Regions from separate parts of the Homo sapiens genome. Here all the other regions are linked to region 4. Evidence: promoter capture Hi-C in 16 types of primary human blood cells and fetal thymus (Javierre and others, 2016). All regions are on one chromosome and are shown on one strand. Each heading gives the region's core, a stretch centred on a gene start or on the middle of the fragment in contact. The rest is flanking DNA. Distances are from core to core; before and after follow the strand shown. Region 1 overlaps HEMK1 (HemK methyltransferase 1, mitochondrial release factors N(5)-glutamine). Region 2 overlaps MAPKAPK3 (MAPK activated protein kinase 3). Region 3 overlaps LOC105377083 (a long non-coding RNA gene). Region 4 holds the start of MANF (mesencephalic astrocyte derived neurotrophic factor).

Region 1 (4,193 bases), core at 1,290-3,789, 800 kb before region 4:
AGAGAAGAGGAGCTGCCACCCATTTGGGGCCCTCCTTCTCTGGGTCCTCAGATTTGCCCTTCAGCCCAGAGTGTAAGTTCCACAGGGCCCCATTCATGGAGGCCTTGCCCATGCCCTCCATGCATTTCAGATACCCCTTTCTCAGGCTGTCACCTCCCACTGCTTTGCCTTTCAGCTATGAAGACCCCGCGGCCCTGGATGGTGGGGAGGAGGGCATGGACATCATTACCCACATTCTGGCCTTGGCACCCCGGCTCCTGAAAGACTCTGGGTATGAATGGGATGGGTCTCCTAGGTCTGTCCCCAGCAGGCTCCTCTGCTCCTAATGTGTACTGGGCAGGCCCTGGCAGAGGTCAGCACAGGACCCTCACCTCGCCAGCCCAAGCAGCCCAGAAGGGCAGGCGCCAGACCTGTCCTGCTGAGCCCACCCATTTCTCCCCCATGTAGTAGTATCTTCTTAGAAGTGGACCCAAGGCACCCGGAGCTTGTCAGCAGCTGGCTTCAGAGCCGGCCTGACCTGTACCTTAATCTTGTGGCTGTGCGCAGGGACTTCTGTGGGAGGTAAGATCCTAGCCCCCTTTAGCCCTGTAGCATGCTGGTCTTTCCACTGGGGCCATCCTCAGCCCTGGCTGTCAGGAGAGTGTGCTGTTCCCACTTCCTGTTCATTCCCTGAGGCCCAGGTGGTAACCAGCCCCTGTCCCTGTCTCCTCAGGCCCCGGTTCCTGCATATCCGGAGGTCTGGGCCATAGCATGGCTGCCCTGTGGATGCCTTGTCAGTGCCGCCAGCCTGACCAGAGGGGAGGTGGATGGCACTTTCCAGAGCCCAGGTTCTTATGGCATTTCCCAGGGTTCTGTGATTTCCCCATGCTCTGCATTTCTAGGATATTTCTAGGACACCTGGATTGGCTCCATCACATCAGAGTGGCTGAGGGCAGTTGCTCTGTGTTGGTGAAATTGCTGTGGGGGTATCGGGGGATATGGCCAGTAAAGTATTGAGAGACTAACAAATGGTGACCTAATGTTTTGTCCATGACTTGCAGGTCCCCTGACCCCCTTACTCCCAGGTAGCACTGGGGCAAGGGTTTCCTTCTGCCCCAGCAGGGCTGGCCGTCAGTCCCCTGCTTGGTAGTGGTGTGGGGGTGCAGTGTGGAGGAAGGCACGTGAGTCCTCACTCCTGGCCTTGGATACCATGGGTCCTGGCATAGAGCAGCTCACTCCCAGGGATTGATTAGTCCTCCACTGCCCTGGGTGCATGCGTACACAATTCCCTGGCCAAGCCTGGCTCGAGCACAGGAAGCTCATCTGCGTTTTGGCTCAAGGATGACTGCCTGCTTTCTGGAGGGGAGGGTCTGGAGGTCTTTGCTGCACAGTTCCTGGGTCGCACATCCACGTTCATTTAACTGAAGGCTTGAGCCAGTGAGGGGTGTTTCCTTTTTATCCCCATAGCTTTTAGCTAAAACATCCCTCCCGAGTTGACCCCCTGGGGTTTCAAATAACCCATGTGTCCCTGGTTGGGGCTGGGGAGAGTGAGAAGCTGAGATACTGGGCACAGGGTTGTGGCCTCCACCCCAGCTCTGGTCTGTGCAGACTCATGGCCACCAGGAGGCCTGCAGATCCAGCCTTCCTGTCAACAGCGACAGGAAATCTCTAGGTTGGTGAGTGCTGGTGATGTGAGCCTACATCAGGGTGGGTCCTAAGAAACATGGCAAACCAGGCTGTCTCATTCCACTAGACTGCCCCCTGCCACCCTGGCACTTCCCAGGGCCTGGCAGTATGGTCTGATGGGCAGTATGGTCCAATAGGCAGCATCCTCTGCTGCAGCTGGGAGAGCTGAGTTCCAGGGCTGTGTCCTGCAGTGGGACCTTGGGCAACTCCTTTCCCTATGAGAAGCTGGCTCTTCTGAGTCCAGGGCCAACGCCAACTGGCAACCTCTTTACTCTTAGTCAAGTGGAATGTGCATGCTGGCATCTGAATGTCCATTCGCCAGGCATGGAGAGCAAGAGAAGGTATGTACTGCCTGAGGTCACATGACAGTGACCAAGTGGAGACAGTAAGTTAGATCCCTCCCTTTGGGGAGCCTATATTGCTGGAGTCATACCCAGCCTAAGTGTTGCCCTGCACTATGGCTGGAGGACACATTTGGTAGAGGTCACACTGCAGCTCCCAGTGCCCCAGTGTCCTGCCCTGTGCCCAGCCCCAGCTGCATGGACTCTGAGCTGCCCCTGGCTTCCTTTAAGGAGGCTGCTCCAGAAGGAACCTGGGTGGGGAGGGCGAAGGGGGTGCACAACCAGGGCAAGGCTCCCCACTTCCTTAGTCCCCCATGCTCACAGACCTTTGCCTGCTAAGGTCCTCACCAGTATTGCCCTTTCTGTCTTTCTCCTTGTGCCCTTTGGCTCTTGCTGTCTTCAGCAGCATCTCAGGGTAGCTGCCCTGACCTCGGAGCAGTCTGTCGCCCCCCTACACCTCAGCCAGTCCTGGCTTCCCTGATGGTCTCTCCCTCCTGGCCTCAGGCCCATTCCTGAGGAAGGGCCTTGGCGAGCTTGTGGATGTTGCACCAGAAGAGAGTGCAGTGTTGGAGAGTGACACTGTCGGGGCAGCTGGGGCCACAAGCAGGAGCCGGCCTCGGGCACAACTTTCTGCCCAGAAAAATGTGCAGCTTGACTCTGCTGAGGAAAAGGTCCAAGCCAAGAGGACTGGCAGGCGGGGCCTCAAGCCTGCAGCCACTGGCTTGATTGGGCCCTGGACGTTGAGCCCAGATGTTGGAGCCACACCAGCCTGGATTTCAATCCCAGAATCTGCCCCTCACGAGGATGTGACCTTGGGCAGATGACTTCACCTCACTCAGCCTTGGCTTCTAAGGCTGAGAAATGGGACTTAATGCTTTATTTTATAGGATGCATGTGAGGAGCCCATGGGATGTGCCTGGCTTGGCACATTGTGGCATTTTTCCTTGCCTTCCTCGGAGGGCAGACACAGGGAGGAAGGACCCAGTGCCCTCAGGCGTCCATCTGATGCATGGGACCAACATAAGGCAGGCAGGGATACAAGGCAGTCTGGAAAGAAGGGAAGGCAGGAGTTTCAGTCTTGGGCTCTTGACTCCTCACTGTTGTCTAGAGATGGAGCCAGCAGGCTGGTAGCCTGGCAGCCTACATCTCCCCTCAGCCTCTCCTCACTATGGCCCCAGTGCCTTGAGGCCCAGGCCAGGGCAGCCAGTGGCTCTAGCTCAGGGAAAGCCAGGCCCACCTGCCCTATCCCCTCCCTTGCTCCTGAGGCCAAAGCCAGAGACTCGAACAGCCTCCCCACCACCACCAGCATATGTCAAGGAGCACTTGCAGGCAGAATGGGAGGAGGACATGGAGCTGATGGAGTCCAGGCTGTGCAAGCCCCTGAGGTCTTGAGAGATGTGCCCACTGCCCGTGCAGCCTCCTTCAGCCAGAGCCCAGAGCATAGACAGGAGTGTAGGAGTCCCTGTTTGATGTACTCTGGGAGAGTAATTCTATCTCCTCTTCTGATAGTTGGGGAAACTGAGGCCTTGTCTCACAGTTGGATGCTTTTCCCAGTTGTCAGTGGGTTTCTCCATGGGTCTCATACAGCTGCCTTATTGAAATAGGCCCCGAACCCCCTAAATGCAAAAAATACTCTTTTTTGCTCCTTTACCCCCACCTGGACCCTGGGCTATTGGCTGCTCCCAATCCTTGCCCCAAACACTTAGCTGGCTCCCCATGACTTAAGTGTGTTCTCTTGTGTCCTATGGAATCCAGTTCTGAAGAGGTGGGGGAGGACAACTGTGGGAAAAGCCCTGGGGGCCCCTCCCAAGGCCCCATCAGTGCTCTGAGTAGGCTGTCATCAGAACAAAGGGCTCCACTGCTGACAAGGTTTGAGAACTGCTGGCTTGAGGTGAGAACCCCTTTAACCTCTGCGGGACAGCATGTCTTTCCCTATCCACCTTCGATTCTTTTCTCTTTTTTTTCTTCATTGGCTCCTTCTTAGTGGATTCTCTTCTCTACTGCCCTGGGCTTCAGCCTTTGTGCAGTACTCTCGATGCCCTGAACACACACCTTCCCTTTGCCCAGGCGGTGCAAACAATCCACTTCTTCAAGCTCCAACACAAATGCTGCCTCCTTTAGGATGCCTGCTCTGTGCTCTCCCTGCCTCCCCTAGCCCATACCTCTGCTGGCACCTTCTGTACCATG
Region 2 (3,893 bases), core at 1,394-3,893, 740 kb before region 4:
AACTGGTTTAGTTCACTATCCCACTTACCCTTGGTGTGGTCCGAGGGAGTAACTCTCCTTTTGTGCCTTAGTGAATAAGCTCAGTGTCTACCACAGAGGACGGTAGTGAGGATCATGTGATGCAAAGGGCTTGGCCCAGTGCTGGGCACACAGTGGGCACAGAGGCAGCACAGGCTGTCACTGACATTAAGGGGCTGCCCAGGCAGGGGGGTGATGGTTCCTAAGGTCAGTACATCCTGACCTCTTAGTGCCCACCATCCTGTCTGTCCCCAGGAGGAGATGACCAGTGCCTTGGCCACTATGCGGGTAGACTACGACCAGGTGAAGATCAAGGACCTGAAGACCTCTAACAACCGGCTCCTCAACAAGAGGAGAAAAAAGCAGGCAGGCAGCTCCTCTGCCTCACAGGGCTGCAACAACCAGTAGCTCATGGGGCCTTGGAGGAGCCTGGCCTCTCAGCCTGCATAACAGACTGAAATGTGCTCAGGCCCTGGCCAGGAGGGCCCAGGGTCATTCTTTTAACAAAAGGATTATTTTGTTGTGTTTTAATTTGTCACTCGGAACTTCAGGATGGAGGACCCTGACCCTAAACCTCCTTCAGATCTCTGGCCCAGGCTCAAGCCCTAGAGATGGGCAGGGCCTAGGGGCTGGGAGCTGCCTGCTGCCATAGCAGCACCTTTAGCTAGGTTGGCCCGAGTGAGGCCTCTGTGCTGTCCTGCCCTGGTGCATGGCCTTAGCTTTCTAGGCCACTGGGAGTTGTGGCTGGGCTTCCCATCTTCCACAGAGACATCTCCCTGTGGGATGGGCAGATGGGCCTGGCCTTGAGAAAGGCATTGGCCATTGGTTGCCATGGTGACCAGGGACCACGTTGCTGCCTGTGAATGCTGAGTGAGCGAGTAAGGGAGGAGGGGCGATTGAGGGTTCACCTCTGCCTTGGGGAGGCTGATTTCTCACACACTGGCTGGCCCTCTCATTCTCACTCCTCCTTGGGCCCTGAGGCTGCTGGATCCGGTCTGCCTGCCTCCCTGTGCAGTCCAGCCCTGCCTTGCTGCAGCCCCAGCCCAGATGGCACTCAGCGCTCTCCCCTGAGGGAGTCCCTGGGCCTAGCCATCCCCTCACTATTCCCGACCCAAAGGGTGACTTTTCATCTGAACTTAAGGTGGGAGATATTTTTAACTTTTTTCCACTTTGGAAAATGTCACTGTGACAAAAGCCAGCATACTTTCCCTGCACCCATCTGCTCACCAGATCTCAGGCAGGAAAGCCCCTCTCTGTTGAAGTCAGGGGCTATCTTTTGGTATACTTGTGTGAAAGTGGCTGGTTGGGAGCAGAGCTAAGTGGCTTCCCATTAACCTGAGGTCTCTTTCTTTACTCTGGGTCAGACCTGAGGTTGGGGAAGGCGACTGAGCCATGCTCAGAATGTCTGGTCCTGGCTTGGGCCTGAGTAGGGCAGAGAGGGCCTTTCCTGGCTGATCAGAGCTTACCAGCCCCACCCCACCATGGTAGCCTTAGGGTGCTGAGTGCCTGATACTGCCTGACAAGTGCCTGACACGCAGCCTAGTTCCTTCCTGGCCCCTCTCTCACTGGCTGGGAAACCCTAGACCATGTCAGATAGGACAACACTGCTGGGTTTTACATCCAGATAGTAATAAACACCATTTCATCATTTTCTCTTGGCTCCTGGGTTTACTCTTTGTCTACAGGGGTGGACAAAGGTGGCCCAAGGGCAGCTTCTCAGACCCACTAGTGATTTCACCCCAGCTGGAGGGGGTGCCTCAGGCCTGATAAGCATGCCATGCTAACTCCAAGGCCAGAGTCCTCGCCAGGCCTAGAAAGGTCAGAAGAGCTGAGGGATGGCAGCTGCCACATGCCCCCAGCTCTGTGCTGCCCCTGTGCAGTGTGTGTGACACCTACCCCCGGTCCTGTGTGTGCCAGCATCTGCCCAGAGTGGCCACCCCCAGCTGTGTGCCAGCCTGCTGAAGGGCGGGCAGAGTGCCTGCTGCAGCGCTGAGCTATTTTCAGAAACTGCCAGATTTCATTTGGCAGTGAGAATATCGAGGAGGGGAGGGGGCGGCATGCTGCAAGACTGTCTTTTGACTACTCCAGTAAGAGAGCACTCTCACCCCTCCGGAGCCCTTGTGGGTAGCTTCAAGGAGGGCCCTAACTGTGGCATTTCTCTCCCAGCTCCTATCTTGAGAAACCTCCCAGTTTTCCAAGAGCTCATCTGCTGCCTGCAGCGCTCTCTCCTCCACCCCCACTTCCTTCAGGGCGTGGGGGAGGGTGCAGAGATGCTGGAAGGCAGGGGACAGGCAAACACGCCTGAGATGTTCTGCTGCTTCCCAGCCTGGTGACCTTGGGAGCTTTCTTGGCCTCAGTTTCCTCAGCTGTGTCCTGGCGATGATAATGCCCATCTCATGGAGTCATGTGGGGGATTTGAGCAGATGATGTGTGTGAAGTACTTAGTGAGGTGCCAGGTGCGTGGCTCATGCCCCACACTCATTAGCTACTCTAACATCCTTAGTCATCAGGAAGGAGAGAAGTATCTAGAGTTATATCTAGAGTATCTAGAAGTCTCTAGAAGAAAAAGCAGCCCCAAGTCTGCCTCAGGAAGGAGAGAATATCTAGAGTATCTAGAAGTCTCTAGAAGAAAAAGCAACCCCAAATCTACCTCAGGAACTTTCTATCCAGACAATCAGGGCTTCCTCACCCATGGGGTTTCATTTCCAAGGGCCTGCTCCCCAGAGCAGCATCATGTGGGCCTCCTGGGCTTTGTTTCCAGTACTGGGCTTCCAGGAGGGTAGCCAGATAAATTCAAGAGACTCCATGGAGCCTGTGGTTCAGCCCAGCCTTCCTAGTATACCCTACATTTGGAGGAATGCTGGCCAGATGCAAAGGTAGATGTAGTCCATCTAGTCTCAAAGCTGTGGAGGCACAGATGGCCTTCCTTGCTTGGCTGCCAAGCATCCAGTGTACCTGAGATGCTGTGCTGGGTGCAAGGAAGGCTGCAGTGAGAACTTCAGACAGGGAGTTCACCTCAAGGTGTTTACATTCATGCGGGAGAAGGTGAAAACATCACATGTTGAAAAATGTTAAATTGGCCGGGCGTGGTGACTCACGCCTGTAATCCCAGCACTTTGGGAGGCCGAGGCGGGCAGATCACAGAGTCAGGAGATCAAGACCATCCTGGCCAACATGGTGAAACCCCATCTCCACTAAAATATAAAAAGTTAGCTGGGCGTTGTGGCAGGTGCCTGTAATCCCAGCTACTCGCGAGGCTGAGGCATGAGAATCACTTGAACCTGGGAGGCGGAGGTTGCAGTGAGCCGAGATTACGCCACTGCACTCCAGCCTGGCGACAGAGCAAAAGTCCATCTCAAAAAAAAAAAAAAAGTTTAATCAAGGTCTTGATATGATCTGTGATGGAAGAACATGGTTCCAGGAGAAGGAGGTGTCATGGGACAGTTTGAGCCAAAGAGAGAATATATGCATCCCAGTGCTGGGAAAGGTGCCTGATAGGATACAGGGTTGCAGGCAGAAGTGCAGGGACCAGGGCCTCAGGGACAGAGGGTCTCCCTGCTCTAGGACTCCCGTCTGCCACTCTGCTCTGCCAGTCTGTGCTTCTTCCTGGGGCTGTCCTTGATCCTTTGCCTGCACTGGGTTTTTTTTTTTGCCTTCTCCATAGCTCTGGCAAAACTAGAGCTGCAGAAGTTCTAGCTGGGGAGGTCATCTGCTCAGGTGTCCACATGTCAGTTTCAGGGGAGGGTTCTTGTTGGTCACATTTGGCCCCTTGCTGTTGTTGGGGAGAGGGTAGGGCCCCTCCTGTAACTAGGTGGGGAGGGGTGCCCTAGAAGCAGTTAGCAGAAGAGCAGATGGAAAGATTGCCCCATTATCTC
Region 3 (3,942 bases), core at 1,035-3,534, 850 kb before region 4:
AGGATTCCCAGTGTCCATGAGTGAGGGGGAGCCCTTCATGGTACAGACGGGGAAACTGAGGCAGGGGCTTAGCTGAGATCACACATCCACGTTCATGCCAAGGCGCCCTGTGCTCTGCCCTCATGCTGTCTTCACTGTACCAACCCTCCATCTCCCATATCTCTGTGTCATCTGCCCCTGGCCCAAACCACCCCCATTCCTGGTGTGGTCTCCAGCTCTGCCTGTCCATGTATCCCTCTTGCCTAAACTCCTGTGGTGTCCGCTCTGTTCTCTACCTCCTCAGTGCTGAAGCTGCCTTATGCTAGCCCCTGCCCAGCCCACCCCTGCTCCCAAGGCCCTGGTGGACCTATGGACACTGGCCTCTCTTGTCCCCACAGACAAGGTGCCATCTCTGGGGGATATTCTCGTAGGTTCTCTGCCTATGCTGTTGCCCTCCCCAGGGCCTGAGTACCTTTTCTCCCTGGCCTTCTGCTCCAAGCTCTCCTGCTTCCCAGGTTAGCTGCCCTTATTCTTTAAGCCATAGCTCAGGGGTCACAGAGAAGCCTTCTGTGGTCCCCCACTGTCCCCTCCTCTGCTGTAGGATATCTGTCTGTGTTTGCATGTTCTCCCCAGGGAGGCTGTGCCCCCTCGAGGGCGGCCAGCGTGTGATTCCTCCTGGAGTCGGCCCATGTCAGACCCTGAGCTGGTGCTCAGCAGCTCTCGGTGCGTGTTCATTGAATGAATGGATGACCTTCCAGTGACGGGGCCTTCACATCTGGGGCCAGTTCTGCTGGTGAACAATGGGGCATGGTCAAAGATCCTCCTCGGCACCCCCAGCAGAGCCCACAGGGTCAAGTTCTGTGCACATGCTCGGGGCTAGCAGGACCACAGAAGAGGTTGTGAGCCATCTGGGAAGCTGGGTGATAGACCCATCCTGACCGCTGGCCCCTGCCCCACCAGGAGAGAACCCCTGGGAAGCTGAGGAGACACAAGCTTGTCCTGTTGCTGGCCTTGGTTCTTCCTTACATCTTTCCCATTCTCTCTGCCACCAGCCAGTCCCCTCCTTGCCCCCTTGGTCAGTGGCCTTGGTCCTCGTAGTTCCTTTCCTCTCCTTTTGGCTTCTGCTCCCCTCCGCAGGGTGCATGGCACATCCCACTCCAGCAGCCACCCCCTCCCATCTTTCCCTGCCAGTTCCCCACCCACTCCCTGCTCAGCCTCAGCCTCCTGCAGCCCTGTCTCTCCTCTCCACTAGGCACGGCTGCTTTCCTCCAACTTAAGTTGAATTGATCTCCTGCTTAATTACCTGATGTGTTCATTGCCTGCATGGCCTATTGGCAGAGGTGGGTGAGCTGGTGGGCAGGTAGAGAGCTGGGATGGCTCAGACCTTCAGTGGGCACCTGCCTGTGCACCTGGGAGTGCAGCAGTGTGGGTGTGCTTCCCTGGGATGCCAGGGCAGCAGAAGAGGAGTGCATGCACCCACCCACACATGCATACACACACACACACACACCCTTGTGTTTCCACATGGGTAACACCCTAGCACAGTCACACCCCACATCCCACGTGGCCAGCCATGGGTGCACACAGGCACACACACACACACACACGTCACCATCTCCCACACACACATCTATACTGGCTGACTGTGCTTCCAGCTGCAGCCAACAGCTGTTATTACTATCCTGTCCTGGGCCTGGCATTCAAGGCCTCCATGATCAAACCTCAACAGACCACTCCAGCCACACCTCTCTGAGATATCCCTGGACACAGCAGAGGCTGAGGCACCTTCGGGACAGGGCTGGAGGGGTAGGAGCTGGCCAGCTGCAGGCCTGGCCAGAGAAGTGGAGGCTCTCCATCTCTACCCATCAGTCTGTGTGTCTGTGGGGGTGTCAGTCACCCCGGGGGAGCCCCTGGGGCAGACACTCTGAGCAGGTCTCCCACTCACACATCATCTCCCCTCCTCTGACACCCTGTGCCAGGCAGCACCTGGACTCTCACCTGCCCTGAGCTGATCCCAGGAACTGGAGAAGAGGTGGGGCACAGGGAAGGCACCTCCTGGAGGAGGCAGAACTCAGGACAGTGAGCCCTTGCTGAGTACCTATTATGTGCTGGAGCTTTCACACCACGGTTGAAGTTGGTTGTTATCACAGTCCTTCCAGTCATTCTGTCTCCTGCCCACACAGCCCCCATTTCTCCCTCCTCTTGAACACAAGGAATGAGCTCCTCAGGGAGCACACCTCCCAAGTCACACCCAGCCTGCTGGAGCCTCTTCAGTTTCCCTGTCTGTGTTTGCAAGGTCAGGGGTAAAACCAAACTGCATCTCTTTTTCCGGGGGGTGGAGTGTCATTGTCCTTTCTGCTCACTGCTAACCTAGGTTCATCTTGCTGCTTTCAACAGTGATACTCTCTGGTCCTGGCTCCTATGGGCAATGTCTGGTATACCAGGCCACTGCTGAAGTCTTCACATGCCCTGTGGCAGAGGCATGCCCCATGACCCCATTGAGCAGATGAGGAAAGTAAGGCTTTGGGAGTTTAAGTGACTTACTGGGGAGCTCACAGGTAGAAAGTAGCTGTGGCAGGAATGGATCTTGGTCAGGTCACCAACTGGGCTGGGTCTGCACTCCACACCCTGGTACAGATGGGAGGATTGAAGACCTGAGGCCAAGAAAGAAAGCTGCGTGGTAGCCCCCAGCACTGGGACGCTCCACGGTGTGCGGTATGTGGTATTCGGTGCATGGTATTGTTGGGGCTCAAGCAATACGACTCCAGCCAGACGTGGTGACTCACGCCTGTAATCCCAGCACTTTGGGAGGCTGAGGTGGGTGGATCACCTGAGGTCAGGAGTTGGAGACCAGCCTGGCCAACATGAAGAAACCCCGTCTCTACTAAAAAAACAAAATTAGCCGGGTGTGGTGGCGCATGCCTGTAATCCCAGCTACTCAGGAGGCTGAGGCAGGAGAATCGCTTGAACCCAGGAGAGGGAGGTTGCGGTGAGCTGAGATCGCGCCATTGCACTCCAGCCTGGACAAGAGCGAAACTCCGTCTCAAAAAAGAAGAAAAAAAAAAAGAAAGAAAGAAACATGACTCCAGAATACGGCACCTTGCAGGTCACTCTGCCCTTCTCCAGCCCTCCTTTTTTTCCACTCCCTTTTCTCCCCGAAAGTGGTCATAGGAACTAGAACCCCTCTCCTAGCCAAGCAAACCATAAAACCTAGAAAGGTCACTTTCTGACTTCCTCCCTTCTCTTGTAAAGGTCCTCCTGAGACAGGGGTTCTGCCCCTGGGCAGGGGCGAGAGCACCTCTATCATGGAGAGACCCAGTAAGAAACCTGAACAAATGGGTCTTGCTGAAGCCCTGCTCCCAGCTTATTAGCATTAGGCCATGCCCTTTTGCTTTAAGCATTTCTCCACAACTTCTTTCATCAGACTTAGCATAAAAATATTCTGTTTTCCCAGGTCCTTGGATCTTCATTTCCTCAGGCTCCCCAGTCATTAAAACTTTGGTGAAATCAATGTGTTCTGCTTTTCTGTCAATCTGTCTTTTGTTATAAGGGTGTCAGTCACGACCCTTGTGATGGGTGAGGGAAGATGTTCCTTTTCCTCTCCTGACCTGGAAGACAAAGCTTCCTCCTGAAGCCTTCCTGAGGGCTCCAGCTCCCAGGGAGCTCATTCAGGCTGCCAGGCCAGACACAAACCCTTTGGGTCCCAGCCCACATTTGCAAGGTAAACGTGCCCCTTCCTATACCTTCTCATCTCCACCATAAAACAGCCCAGGGGGCCTCTGTTTGTTGGGTGTAATTAGCTGTTTCTCCCTCACTTGATCACAATTAGATTCCGGTTTAGAAGAAAGCAGCCAAAGGGGTCTCTGTGCTGGGGCCTCTTAGGCTGACCTGGGGTAACTGAGTGCAGTGGCTGCCCCCGACCCTGCAAATCCCTCCTCTCCCCTAGGGAGGACGGGGGAGGAG
Region 4 (3,929 bases), core at 916-3,415:
TTCCAGACAGTAAAGGCCATGGTCAGTGTGTTTTTCTCTTGTAAACAAACCCCAGCTTGTTTAACAGAAATGCTAATAACCTACTGGGAAAGATGGAGGTCTAAATTACCTCCAGGGTTTTTCTGGGGGTTTATCACCAGTGTGGGTCCCTTCTGATACCACCAGGTTCACTCCAGGCAGAGTGGGGCGGAAGGCTGCTGAGGATATGGGTCAGTTACAGCAGCCCTCACCTCAAAGGGCTGGCCTGCTTCTCAGCCTACATTCATTTGCAAGCTTCAATCTCTGGACCATCTGGTGTTCACAGGTGTTAGAGGGTTAGGGGTTAGGGGCTAGTTTTGGATTTGATTCATAGGTAGGAGGGCTTAGATTTTAAGGCACTTCTGAAAGTCAATCCCTGGACAAGGCAGTCATCACATAAGAACAGCTACCTTCTCCACTTGGTGGCACAAGAGGTAGGGAGGGGAGTATGGGTTCATTTGGCTTCGCATTATGCAAGGTGAAACCGTTTGTTTTCCCTCTCCATTTTCCCTAACTAAATGAAAAGGACACATTCTGAAATCCCTTTTGTTGGAGAATAAGTCAGTCTGAGGGGAAATGGGAGGCCAGAGATGAGAACCCTTTGAAAAGATTGTAAAATACTGATTTTCATTCTTTCAAGCTTATTTGTAAATACCTATTTGAATGCTGTGTATTTGTACAGGAATTTGAGCAAAAAATGTATAGAGTGTGATGTCCAATTGGTATTCAGCACTATAAATGTGTTTTTAACCTCCCGCATTCTGTGCTTATTTAAAACAAGGAAACTTCTAACCATTTCTTTTGTGTATTCATGTTTAAAGAAAAAAAGTGATTTAAAAATGATCTTACCTGTACCAGAAAAGCAAAGTTAAAGGAAACAAAATTTGTACCATTGTCCCAAGAGGTATTTTACTGTATATATTGTGGTAGCATGTTCAAAATCCAACAAGTAATGTGAATTTTAGATGTAAATATCTGCCACTTGATTTTTTTTCCCCCTTTCCCCACTTCCTTGACTGCTGTGATGTGAATTAAAGATAAATACGTGATACTGATCCACTGAATTCACTGAATGGGAGCAGAGGATGTGCCCCTCTCCAACCCTTGTCGCCGGGCTCCAAGCCCTTTTTAGCCCTATAGACATGTCCTTTTTGCACTGAGTAGAGCCAACGGTTCCCGCATCCTGCCTTGAAGGCAGGCAGCCAGGAGGGCACTTGAAAGGAGGGCAGTCGAAAAGGAAACATCCTCCAGTGCTTCTCTGGTGATTCCCGGGACCCCACTCAGGAGGTCCCACGGCAGCGGGGGACCCCGAGGGCCTAGCCGGGGAGGCAGGAGGAGGCTGGCCAGCCACCAAGCCACGATTCAGAGCTTGTAAGGGCACCTCCCGAGCCCCTCACCTTCCCACTCTGAGGCGACCCCATGTCCTCGACCGATGATCTGGCCCGGGCGCTTCCCTCCACGGTCTAGAGTGGCGGCCCAGCTTTGAGCTTGGCGCGCCTTGAGCCCTTCCTTCAGATGTCCCGCAGTCCGTCCACCCCGCACGTCTCCTATCAGCCTATGCACGGCGGGCTCCGGTCAGGTGGAGGATCAGCAGGTGGGCTTTCAAAGGTTGGATCCGTTGCCCACGCGAATGAAAGAAGAAAAAAGAAACCTCTTTGAGCCTTGCCTGCGGCCGCCCGCCCTTCCTGCCTAACCTGTTGTCTTGGCTGACCCCAGAACTCCTGCACCACGAGTCGGAGTCCGGGCGAGGAGATCAGCAGGGGTTTTCGAGGGAGCCTGGGGCCCAGGGCAGGGGTACGCGGGTCAACTCAACAGATGTAAGGCGTGGCCGAACCCCATTCAGCTAGCAGTACCCAGCCTCAGCCACAGTCGCTGCCCTTACCCAAGATGGCGGCCCACACCGCTTCCGTCGCTGCTGTAGTCGCTTCCTGCGGCCAGCCCGGGTTCAATCAGCGGCCGACAACTGTCTAGGGCTCAGACACCACCAGCCAATGAGGGAGGGCAGCGTGGAGCCGCCCGTCTGGGCTCGCGGCTCCTGGACCAATGGGGAAGTGGCATGTGGGAGGGCGCCGGGGGGCCCCCCGCCAATGGGGAGCTACGGCGCGCGGCCGGGACTTGGAGGCGGTGCGGCGCGGCGGGTGCGGTTCAGTCGGTCGGCGGCGGCAGCGGAGGAGGAGGAGGAGGAGGAGGATGAGGAGGATGAGGAGGATGTGGGCCACGCAGGGGCTGGCGGTGGCGCTGGCTCTGAGCGTGCTGCCGGGCAGCCGGGCGCTGCGGCCGGGCGACTGCGAAGGTGCGGGATAGGGGGCCGGGGGCCGCGCTCCGTGACCGTTCTGGCGGCGGCGCTGAACCCCACAACATCACCAGACGGCCGGGGCCAAGAGGGCGAGGGCGGGGGCGGGGGCGGGGGCGACAGCAGGTCCCCGCGGGGCCTGCATGAGGAGGCTCCGGCGCCCGCCCTAGTAAATCTTTCTTGGGCCTAGAAAACATTGGTCCGACGAAGAAAAGTTGAGACTAGATCCCGTTGAAAACTTGTCCTGAAATCTCCATCACTCCTGAGTTATTGTCCCCACCACCATCTAGAGGTTACCGCTCCCCGTTCGGCGTCGGGAGCTCCAGGGCTGGCCGTGGGTGCTGCGCCCTGTCTGTTGGGATCACGAAGCTGCACCTCTGGGTCCGCTGTTGTATTTGGAAATTAGCAGCAGCATTTTGATCATTTTTCTCTTCACCTTCCAGTCTCTCCATTTATGAGGTCACAGTGAGTCCCGTCTCAAGGACACGTGTTCACCATGGGCTTAAACTTGATGAAAGGAGCAGGGAGAAGTCGTTTATAGGTCATTGGGTGATGCTTGGTCCTTTGATGCCCTGGGTGTACCAGGGGACCCCCGCCACTTGGAACCGGGTTCTGTCTACCTGTAGACACCTGAGAAAAATCGGTGATGGAAAAGCTCACCTCTAATGATTCATCTCCGTGTCTCCTATTAAAATTGCTGGCGGAGTTCTTTTCTGGTGGATTGGAACAGCTTGGTGATTGCTGAGCATCTCCCGTCCCTCTCTTTTCCAGTTTGTATTTCTTATCTGGGAAGATTTTACCAGGACCTCAAAGACAGAGATGTCACATTCTCACCAGCCACTATTGAAAACGAACTTATAAAGTTCTGCCGGGAAGCAAGAGGCAAAGAGAATCGGTTGGTAAGTAGCTGGTGATCCTCCCCAACTGGCCCTGGCTCATGTTAACCCTCGGCTTCACCAGCCGTTTGATAAAAGGCCTTGCCCACCTCTCTGTTCAGGAAGCCAGCTACTCTCTCCATAAACTAATGTGAGAAGACTGAAGTGCTTCTATGTCCTTCCCAAAGCAGCATGTGTTCTGCAACTGTGATTTTTTTTTATCCTGTTAGTCTTTATTAAGCACCTACTATGTGCTAGGCACTGGGAATATCAGGGGAAAGAAGTGACAGTCGGACACACAAATAATGCAATGTCTGGGTGTCATGAAGAAAATGGACCAGCAGGTGCTGATTTAGAGTGGCCAAGAAGTCTCTGAGGAAGGGTTATCATTGAAGTGGGGTAAGACCATCCCATACAGGGAACAGCAGTGTGAGTGCCCAGAGGCCTGAAAGAGTGTGGCATGTATGTGGACAGGAGAAGGTGACAGGGTGCCTACAGGATAGGCAAGGGCCGAATCCAAGACAAAAGCCCTAGTGAAGCAATGGGTTTTCTAACTTGAATTTCTCTGACAGTCTCTGGCTTTTCTCTCTGTTAAAGGTTTGAACCCTGGTGACACTTAAATTCATTTGGTGGCTGTCAGCTTGGACTGAGCATGTGTTAAGAGTCCAGGGTTTACACTGGCTGAATCTGACTACCAGTACAGGCAGGGCACCGAAAAATGCCGCTGTGGGCCAGGTGCGGTG

The links. The method cuts DNA at HindIII sites, captures the fragments that hold promoters and counts their contacts. A CHiCAGO score of 5 or more calls a contact.
Region 1: a fragment that was not itself captured here is called in contact with the fragment with the promoter of MANF in region 4 in 17 of 17 cell types (M0 macrophages, endothelial precursors, megakaryocytes and 14 more); the score reaches 15.0 in M0 macrophages.
Region 2: a fragment that was not itself captured here is called in contact with the fragment with the promoter of MANF in region 4 in 13 of 17 cell types (megakaryocytes, activated CD4 T cells, erythroblasts and 10 more); the score reaches 13.8 in megakaryocytes.
Region 3: a contact is called between a fragment that was not itself captured here and the fragment with the promoter of MANF in region 4, in 1 of 17 cell types (neutrophils). The highest score is 5.2, in neutrophils.

The regions. Positions count from the first base shown.
Region 1 is chr3:50,579,669-50,583,861 of GRCh38, forward strand. HEMK1 (HemK methyltransferase 1, mitochondrial release factors N(5)-glutamine) reads left to right here. Exons shown (of 11, transcript NM_016173.5): 9 at 176-271; 10 at 448-561; 11 at 713-4,193. The coding sequence ends at 749. Among named protein-coding and RNA genes, the nearest start is that of HEMK1, 12 kb to the left of the region's middle. RefSeq lists enhancers at 2,124-2,625, 2,626-3,125. The HindIII fragment of the contact is 8,059 bases long and covers 1-4,193 here.
Region 2 is chr3:50,647,621-50,651,513 of GRCh38, forward strand. MAPKAPK3 (MAPK activated protein kinase 3) reads left to right here. Exons shown (of 11, transcript NM_001243925.2): 11 at 274-1,671. The coding sequence ends at 426. Among named protein-coding and RNA genes, the nearest start is that of LINC02019, 20 kb to the right of the region's middle. RefSeq lists enhancers at 1,449-2,002, 3,458-3,893. The HindIII fragment of the contact is 5,654 bases long and covers 1-3,893 here.
Region 3 is chr3:50,535,449-50,539,390 of GRCh38, forward strand. LOC105377083 (a long non-coding RNA gene) reads right to left here. Exons shown (of 3, transcript XR_940833.2): 2 at 2,524-2,633; 3 at 1-766. Among named protein-coding and RNA genes, the nearest start is that of C3orf18, 30 kb to the right of the region's middle. RefSeq lists a silencer at 2,267-2,508. The HindIII fragment of the contact is 2,628 bases long and covers 971-3,598 here.
Region 4 is chr3:51,383,126-51,387,054 of GRCh38, forward strand. It overlaps MANF (mesencephalic astrocyte derived neurotrophic factor), which reads left to right and starts at 2,166. Exons shown (of 4, transcript NM_006010.6): 1 at 2,166-2,311; 2 at 3,083-3,210. The coding sequence starts at 2,218. DOCK3 (dedicator of cytokinesis 3) reads left to right here. Exons shown (of 53, transcript NM_004947.5): 53 at 1-1,073. RefSeq lists an enhancer at 1,582-1,931 and a silencer at 1,992-2,361. The HindIII fragment of the contact is 4,055 bases long and covers 657-3,929 here.